3 separate regions of the Homo sapiens genome follow, and all the other regions are linked to region 1. The links are contacts of gene promoters, found by promoter capture Hi-C in blood cells and fetal thymus (Javierre and others, 2016). All regions are on one chromosome and are shown on one strand. Each heading gives the region's core, a stretch centred on a gene start or on the middle of the fragment in contact. The rest is flanking DNA. Distances are from core to core; before and after follow the strand shown. Region 1 holds the start of SAMSN1-AS1 (SAMSN1 antisense RNA 1). Region 2 overlaps USP25 (ubiquitin specific peptidase 25). Region 3 overlaps LOC105369302 (a long non-coding RNA gene).

The links. The method cuts DNA at HindIII sites, captures the fragments that hold promoters and counts their contacts. A CHiCAGO score of 5 or more calls a contact.
Region 2: a fragment that was not itself captured here is called in contact with the fragment with the promoter of SAMSN1-AS1 in region 1 in 2 of 17 cell types (total CD4 T cells and activated CD4 T cells); the score reaches 6.2 in total CD4 T cells.
Region 3: a fragment that was not itself captured here is called in contact with the fragment with the promoter of SAMSN1-AS1 in region 1 in 4 of 17 cell types (M2 macrophages, M0 macrophages, naive CD8 T cells and 1 more); the score reaches 7.6 in M2 macrophages.

Annotation. Positions count from the first base shown.
Region 1 is chr21:14,580,912-14,583,505 of GRCh38, forward strand. It overlaps SAMSN1-AS1 (SAMSN1 antisense RNA 1), which reads left to right and starts at 1,291. Exons shown (of 5, transcript NR_046512.2): 1 at 1,291-1,380. It also overlaps a transcript of SAMSN1 not described here. The HindIII fragment of the contact is 2,204 bases long and covers 1-1,383 here.
Region 2 is chr21:15,746,515-15,749,108 of GRCh38, forward strand. The region is part of intron 1 of USP25 (ubiquitin specific peptidase 25); the gene reads left to right. Among named protein-coding and RNA genes, the nearest start is that of USP25, 18 kb to the left of the region's middle. The HindIII fragment of the contact is 2,106 bases long and covers 251-2,356 here.
Region 3 is chr21:15,588,633-15,591,226 of GRCh38, forward strand. All of the region lies in intron 1 of LOC105369302 (a long non-coding RNA gene), which reads right to left. Among named protein-coding and RNA genes, the nearest start is that of USP25, 140 kb to the right of the region's middle. The HindIII fragment of the contact is 1,807 bases long and covers 398-2,204 here.

The DNA of each region.
Region 1 (2,594 bases), core at 41-2,540:
AAAGTTATAAAACATGCCTTGAGCAATTTACAAGGAAATTGAAAAAAAAGTACCACTCTTAAGTACTAGAAGATTTATAATATTTGACTTTAGCTTCTTGACTATTTCCATTTTTTAGTTAAGAAAGTTAAGATTAAAAGGTTTAAATAACTTATCCAAGCCCAAAAAAAAAGTAGCACAGCCAGAATCCATCCAAATTTGTTTGACTCCAGAGAGCATACTCTTTCTCACGTATCACATAATAGCCTTAGAGTCTGCCCTCGTATATGGAAAACACTCTAATGTAGTAGCTAAAAGCAGGAGCTCTAGCTAAAAGCAAGACCTAGGTTATAGGTCTTGGCTCTACCTCCTGTTAGCTGTCTGACTTTGCACCTGTTACCAACTTTTTGTGCCTCCATTTTCTCAACTGTAAAATGAGGGGAAATAATATTTCTTTTTTTTTTTTTTTTTTTTTTTTTTTTTTTTGAGGACGAGTCTTGCTCAGTCGCCCAGGCTGGAGGGCAGTGGCGCGATCTCGGCTCACTGCAAGCTCCACCTCCTGGGTTCACGCCATTCTTCCGCCTCAGCCTCCCGAGTAGCTGGAACTACAGGTGCCCGCCACCACGCCCGGCTAATTTTTTTGTATTTTTAGTAGAGACGGGGTTTCACCTTGTTAGCCAGGATGGTCTCGATCTCCTGACCTCATGATCCTCCCGCCTCGGCCTCCCAAAAGTGCTGGGATTACAGGCATGAGCCACCGTGCCTGGCCAAAAATAATATTTCTTAAGGTAATATTTCATAATGTAAGTCCTTACCTTATAGAGTTGATGTGAGATTTAAATGAGATAATACATATAAAATGCTTAGGAAAATGGCAGGCCCAAATAAAATGCTCATTAAAATTAGCTATTATTTTTCAGTGAAATTTCATTATAATTGCAATAATTTAGACAGTTCACTTCACATTTTCTTGATCTCAGTCAACACACGAAGTCTTCCTTCAATCAAAAAGAAATCCCTGGAAAAATTTTATGCAGTCATTAATTTGTACACAAAGGAATATATGAAATGTTAATATGGGTAAAAGTCACAAGAGTTTGGTTGCTTTTTGGAAAGACAACTCTTGCTCTGGTAACTTTTCTGAAACTGATAAATTTCACTGATTAGCACTTTTGCTATCTGTTTCTTTCCCGACAGTACAAAACCCCAGATAAGATGACACATTTCCGTAGTCTGCAAACTTACCCATGAATGTAGGAGATCCATATCTGAGCAGGAAGACTTGAGACGTGTGTGGCGAATACAAGAGGAGCAGTGGTCCCAGGGTCCAACTTGTGCTATTTGGAAATCAAGACATGTCCAGAGAGGGTTTTCAGGAAAAGGCTTCCAGTGATGCCACATGTAAGCTTCACCTTCATACCAAGCTAATTTATCTTCCAAGTTGCAGTTATTTAAAGTGCTGGATCTACCCAGTGATGCAGAAAGAGTATCCAATCTAATCTCCATTTCTTCCTTCCTCCTCGTGCTAACACTATTCACTTTCTTTTCTCGGGACTTGGTTAATTTCAAACAAGAAATCAACGTGTCATCTTCATCTTCTGAATGACAAAGAAATAGGTTAAAAACTATGATTATAATTCTTCACATATAGGAATTATTCTTCCATTTATATAAGAGAAATAAATACACTGCAATGGATAAACCAAGAAGTCATTCAATTTTATAAAATTATTTACAGCAGCATTTATTTAAAAAGCAAGTTATTTTGCTATATAAAATTTTTTGTTTTGTAAAAGTCGCATTTTTCTGACATTTTTGAAACCATAACAATTGATTAAATTCTATCTCACTGGAAAGAATGGAGGCCACATACAAATAATATGCTGAAAGATATTTGAGAAAAAAATACAATTAAAAAACCCACCTCTTATGTTTCTATTCTTAAATATTTTTTTAATTTTTAAGGTCATGTGTATAATAAAGAATTATAAGGAAATAAATAAAATTATTTGCCCTACTTAAAAGAATAAAATCTCAGTGGTTTGGACTGAAATCCTACTGACATTCTGAAATTGTCTATTTTAATATCAATCTACCAAGAGATGTATGGATGCAGTGTGTCTCACAGTGAAATGGTTTTCAAAAAACAAGAACGACAAAAATTTAAAAAAGCCATATCTGTAATACCATAAAGTTCATTTGTGAGATCTATATTTACACAATGTGGCAAAGACTCTGATGAAATTTCTAGTAATGTAGAAAACAGTTACAGAAAATAGAAATATATATCACCCAGAGTCAATTGCTCTATGTCATGGAATCCCTTTAAATCCAAACGTTTAATGGGTATTTTTAAAAGAGTTCGATTACTTAAGGCATGCTATTATAAATAAATAAATGAAAATCAAAGTTGCATGCCATGGACATACCAATTTGTTATGCTTACATCAAAATTCAAATACATTGTTTTCTATGGCCAAGGAATGGCGACAGTGGACACTGCTGAGCTTCCTCCATTGCTCTCTCTCACTGTGTCTCGGAGCCCGGTCTTGAAGGCAAGGAGAAACGGGGCGGTGCATAAATACGGGGTAAAATTCAGGAACAGATGGGGATGT
Region 2 (2,594 bases), core at 54-2,553, 1.2 Mb after region 1:
CTCCCTAGTAGCTGGGACTACAGGTGTGTGCCACCACACCCGGCTAATTTTTTGTATTTTTAGTAGAGATGGAGTTTCACTGTGTTATAGCCAGGATAGTCTTGATCTCTGGACAGCATGATCCACCAGCCTCGGCCTCCCAAAGTGCTGGGATTACAGTTGTGAGCCACTGCACCCTGCCAGTGGTTTTTAGTTTTTATTCCAATTGTTTTTTGCTGGTATATAGAATGTGGTTGATTTTTCTGTATGAAGCTTGTATCTGCGACTTTGCGAAATTCACTTATTCTAATAAATGTATTTACCACTTTTATTCATTTTAAAAATTGTGCTTTTTGGGGTATTCTCTAAAATGTTTAATAGAAGTGGTAATGACAGACATCTTTGTCTTGTTCCCGATTTTGTATGGAAAGCAGTCTTTTACTACTAAGTATGGTTTTAGTTGTTGCACTTCTTATTTTGTTAAAAATGTGTTATTGTTAATTTATACTTCTAGATATACTACAGCTTAACCATTCTACAGTTAAACTATTTGTTTATATATCTTTTTATATATTTATGGTCCACTGTGATTCTTTTCTGTGAAATTGACATTTGTTTCTCTTGCCTGTTTTTTCTTTTGGGCTATTTATCTTTTTCTTTATGATTTGAGGTAGTTCTTTATGGTTTAGATACTACTTTTGTTTTTCTATTTACAATAGTCCACGTTTACTCTCATGGAATGTGTTCCAAGACCCCCAGTGGATGCCTGAAACTGTGGCTAGTATTGAACCATTTATAGAGTATATTTTGAAAGAGACTACATTCACATAACATACTGTATATGTTTTCAAAATATTTGAAATAGTATACCATATATAGTATGGTTCAGTACTATATAGAATATAGTATATATAGTTTTTTCTTATCTATATATACCTGTGATAAAGTTTAATTTATAAATTAGGCACTATATAACTATATAGTACATATAGTTTTTTTCCTATATATAGTATCTACCTGTGATAAAGTTTAATTTATAAATTAGGTAATTTATAAATTAGTAGAGACTAACAACAATAACTAGTAATGAAATAGAACAACTATGATAATATAATGTTGTGTGAATGTAGTCTTTTTCAAAATATCCGATAACTGAGATGGCTGCTGACTACTAAGTGGGTAGTATACACAGTGTGGATATGTTGGACAAAGGGAAGATTCATGTTGTGGGTGGCATGGAGTGAGATTTCATTATGCACAGCACTCAGTCAGAATAGTGCACAATTTAAAACATCGTTTCTGGAACTTTTCATATTTTTGGACTACGCTTGATCATTGGTAACTGAAACTTCAAAAAGTGAAACGAGATAAGGGGAAACTACTGTATATGTTTTGCAAATATTTTCTGTTTTCACGATGTCTTTTTATTCTCTTTATGTACTTTCATGAGTAGACATTTTTATTTTTAATTTAGTTTCATGTATAATTAGCTTCCTTTAATATTTGAACTTCCATGTCCTGTTTCACAAAGATAGTCTCATTTATTGCCCTCTAAGTGTTTTCTTAATTTGTCTTCATGCAGGGTTTAAGTTTCATTCCACTTGGGTTTGATTTTTGCATGTTGTTTGAGTAGATGTCAGAATTTTTCCCCTCTGGAGAACCAGCGACTTTATTGAACAGTTCCTCCTTCCCATTAATACTCTGCCTGACAACAGTATGTATACTTTTTAAATTCTTCAGTTGGGACCATTGTAAAGAAAAACAGGTGTCAGGAACTTTCGCCCTTGAATTAAAAAATATATTTTTGAGACAGAGTCTTGCTCTCTTGCCCAGGCTGGAGTGCAGTGGCATAATCATAGCCTGCTTCAGCCTCAAACTCCTGGACCCACACTATCCTCCCTCCTCAGCCTCCCAAGTAGCTGGGACTACAGGTGTGTACCATCCACCCAGCTACTTTTTAGTTTTTTTTTTTTTTTTTTTTTTTTTTGTAGAGATGGGGTCTCGCTCTGTTTCCCAGGCTGGTCTTGAATTCCTGGTGTTAAGCAAACCTTTCACTTTGGCCTTCCAAAGCATTGGCATTACAGGCATGAGCCACTGTGCTCAGCCAAATTAAAATATTTTTATTATGGTTTTACTGAAACTTGTTTAAATATAAACTAGGCATACATTTATTATGTTCTGTTGGGTAGCTCTTATGTAATAAGATGAAAAACCAACTACTAACTTAAAGGTAACCAAAACTACAAAACTGGAGAAATTCAGAATAAAAAGGTTAGCTTAATTTGACAGATGGCAGTGTTTTGCAGAAGCTAATTTGGCATTTGTGGCTTCAACTAAGGAAATCGGTATATGTATTTCAGGATATTGTAATATGTTAAGCTTTTGGAAGTAAATTTTATTTCTGTTGTCAACTATACTGCATTTCTGACTTGATACCTAATTAATAACCATTATTGTAGAGTGAGTGGTATTTTTGGTCTTTTTATTGTAAAACTGTAACAGATATGCTCTCAAGTGTGTTTTTTTTTTTAATTTTTTTTTCTTAAGCTATAGCTCAGTAAATGCCGATATTTCCATGTTGAACTGAACAGGTTGTGTGATTTAATGTAGAGCAG
Region 3 (2,594 bases), core at 51-2,550, 1.0 Mb after region 1:
TGTAAGTATTCTTTAAATTAACATTTAATCCATAAACTGCAAATTAGGGACATTGCCCACACTTTTTAATTTTATTTTATTTTATTATTTTTGAGATAGGGTCTCACACTGTCACTCAGGCTGAGTTGCCATGACACAATCATGGCTCACTGCCGCTGTGACCTCCTGGGCTCAAGCAATCCTCTCACTTCTCAGCCTCCTCAATAGCTGGGGCTATGGGTGCCTGCCACCATGCCTGGCTGATTTCTGTATTTTTAGTAGAGATTTGGTCTCACAATGTGGCCTAGGCTGGTCTCGAACTCCTGGGCTCAAGTGATCTGCCTGCCTCAGCCTCCCAAGGTGCTGGGATAGCAGGCATGAGTCACTGTTCCCAGCTGCTCACAACTTTAAAAAAGAAAGCTTAGTGTCTCAACTACATTCTAATGTCATATGGATTATGTTCCAACAAATTCTTTTTCTCAAAGAAAACAATTATTTAAAAAATCATTAACATGTTTGTTTATTATTTGACATTTAAAATGTGCTGTTTTTATATTGAAATAACTCTATCCAAAGTGTACGAAGAGAGAATGGATTCCCTAAGATGGTCAAGTGCAGCAGCATGTTAGCTATCAGACAATAATAAATTGGGAATGACAGATAGTGCTGACCATGGTGCATTCCATAGTGAGAATGGTAAGGACTTAGCAGCTTCCCATTAAATTAATGAGAACCCTCAGCCTTTTTGGCCAGCAAGATTAAGCAACATAATGGAGACATCTGAATACCTTTCTACCACCCTGGGAATGAAAGGCAAGATTGAAAGGACAACCAATTCAGTTAAGTGTTTGGCTTTTCACCCAGGTTACCCCTAGATTGGGCTGTTATTCCACTATTCTCTCATTTTGGCTTTCAAGATCAGCAGCAGCTAAAATAGCATTTTTGAAGTCTTTTAGGTTGTTTATACCCTTGTTTCCTAGATCAATAAGAAATAGAAAGACCAGGAATCCCTCCAGGTCCCTAAAACTGTCCAATAAAGATGTGCCATTAATTTGGATTTATAAGTAGGGTTTTCATTTTATGGTCTGCTTGCTTTTTATAATCAGCAACTCTTCAGTCTGCTATGTAAAAGGAGGCATAGCAATTAGTTAAAAGCTGAAGTGAAAAAGACTAGAATCTAACTGTGGATTTTTCCTCTTCTGTGAGGCAGGATGTGAGAAATCAAAGTATTGGATTAGGAATTAGGCGAGTAGTGCCACTAACAACATGTGCAGCCTGGAAAAATCCAGTCTCTCAAAGCCTCAGTCTCTCCATTGGTAATCAGTTTGACAGTATGATGGCTACATTTTTCAGCATTTCTAACTATATTGCTCTCTTTAAAAACAAAGACTGATATGGAGAATGAGTAGGTAACAGAGCACCAGTATTCCCAAGAAGATATATGCCCAAGAAAATGAATCCTCTCTTGGGCATACATCTTCTTCTGTAAATGGGAATCTATTTACAGATTTTATTTATTTATTTTTCTTGAGACAGAGTCTCACTCTGTCCCTCAGGCTGGAGTGTAGTGATGCGATCTTGGGATCTTGGCTCACTGCAACCTCCGCCTCTTGGGTTTAAGCAATTCTTGTGCCTCAGCTTCTTGAGTACCTGAGAATTCAGGTGTGCGCCACCACACCCGGCTACTTTTTGTGTAGAGATGGAGTTTCACCATGTTGGCCAGGCTGGTCTCACACTCCTGACCTCATGTGGTCCACCCCACCTTGGCCTCCTGGAGTGCTAGGATTACAAGCGTGAGCCACCACGCCCGGCCTATTTACAGATTTATGCTATCTATTTTTCTACTATTGAACACTCAAATTCTAATCCATGGAAATTCCATTTATATATTGAAGAGTAAGCACACAGAACATTGTTCACATTGCTACTGTTAGTATTTTTTACCGGGACTTATAACATCACCTGTTAGGTCAACATTGATCCACCAGTCAACACAATTTGTTTGTATTTTTGCTTTCTTTAATCCATAATTTAATTCTCTTAACCCCCCTGGGAAAAATCCGTAGGCATCACTTTGAAGTTTATTTCTCATAATCTTTTAAAACATAGGTCATTAAGTGACTGTGTTTCCATTTAGAGGATTAATCCTCTGTGTGTTTTCTAATTCCTTAGGCTGACTAGTCTTGTCATCTCAATAGCCATTAATATCTTACCCAGAGAACGGAAGCTTAAAGAAAGCTGTTGAAGATTTAAGATAATCTATAAGTTTGGATAGTTTTTTTTATTTATCATATTCATTTATTTATTTGAGACAAGAGTCTTGCTCTGTCACCCAGGCTGGAGTGCAGTGATGCGATCTCGGCTCACTGCAATCTCTGTCTCCCCAGTTCAAGCGATTCTCATGCCTCACCCTCCGGAGTAGCTGGGATTACAATCGTGTCCCACCACACCTGGCTAATTTTTGTATTTTTATTAGAGATGAGGTTTCACTGTGTTGGCCTGACCTCAAGTGATCCACCCACCTCAGCCTCCCAAAGTGCTGGGATTATAGGCGTGAGCCACTGTGCCTGGCCAAAGGTTTTAAAATTGTAAAGACCTGTAACATTAACCTTTGC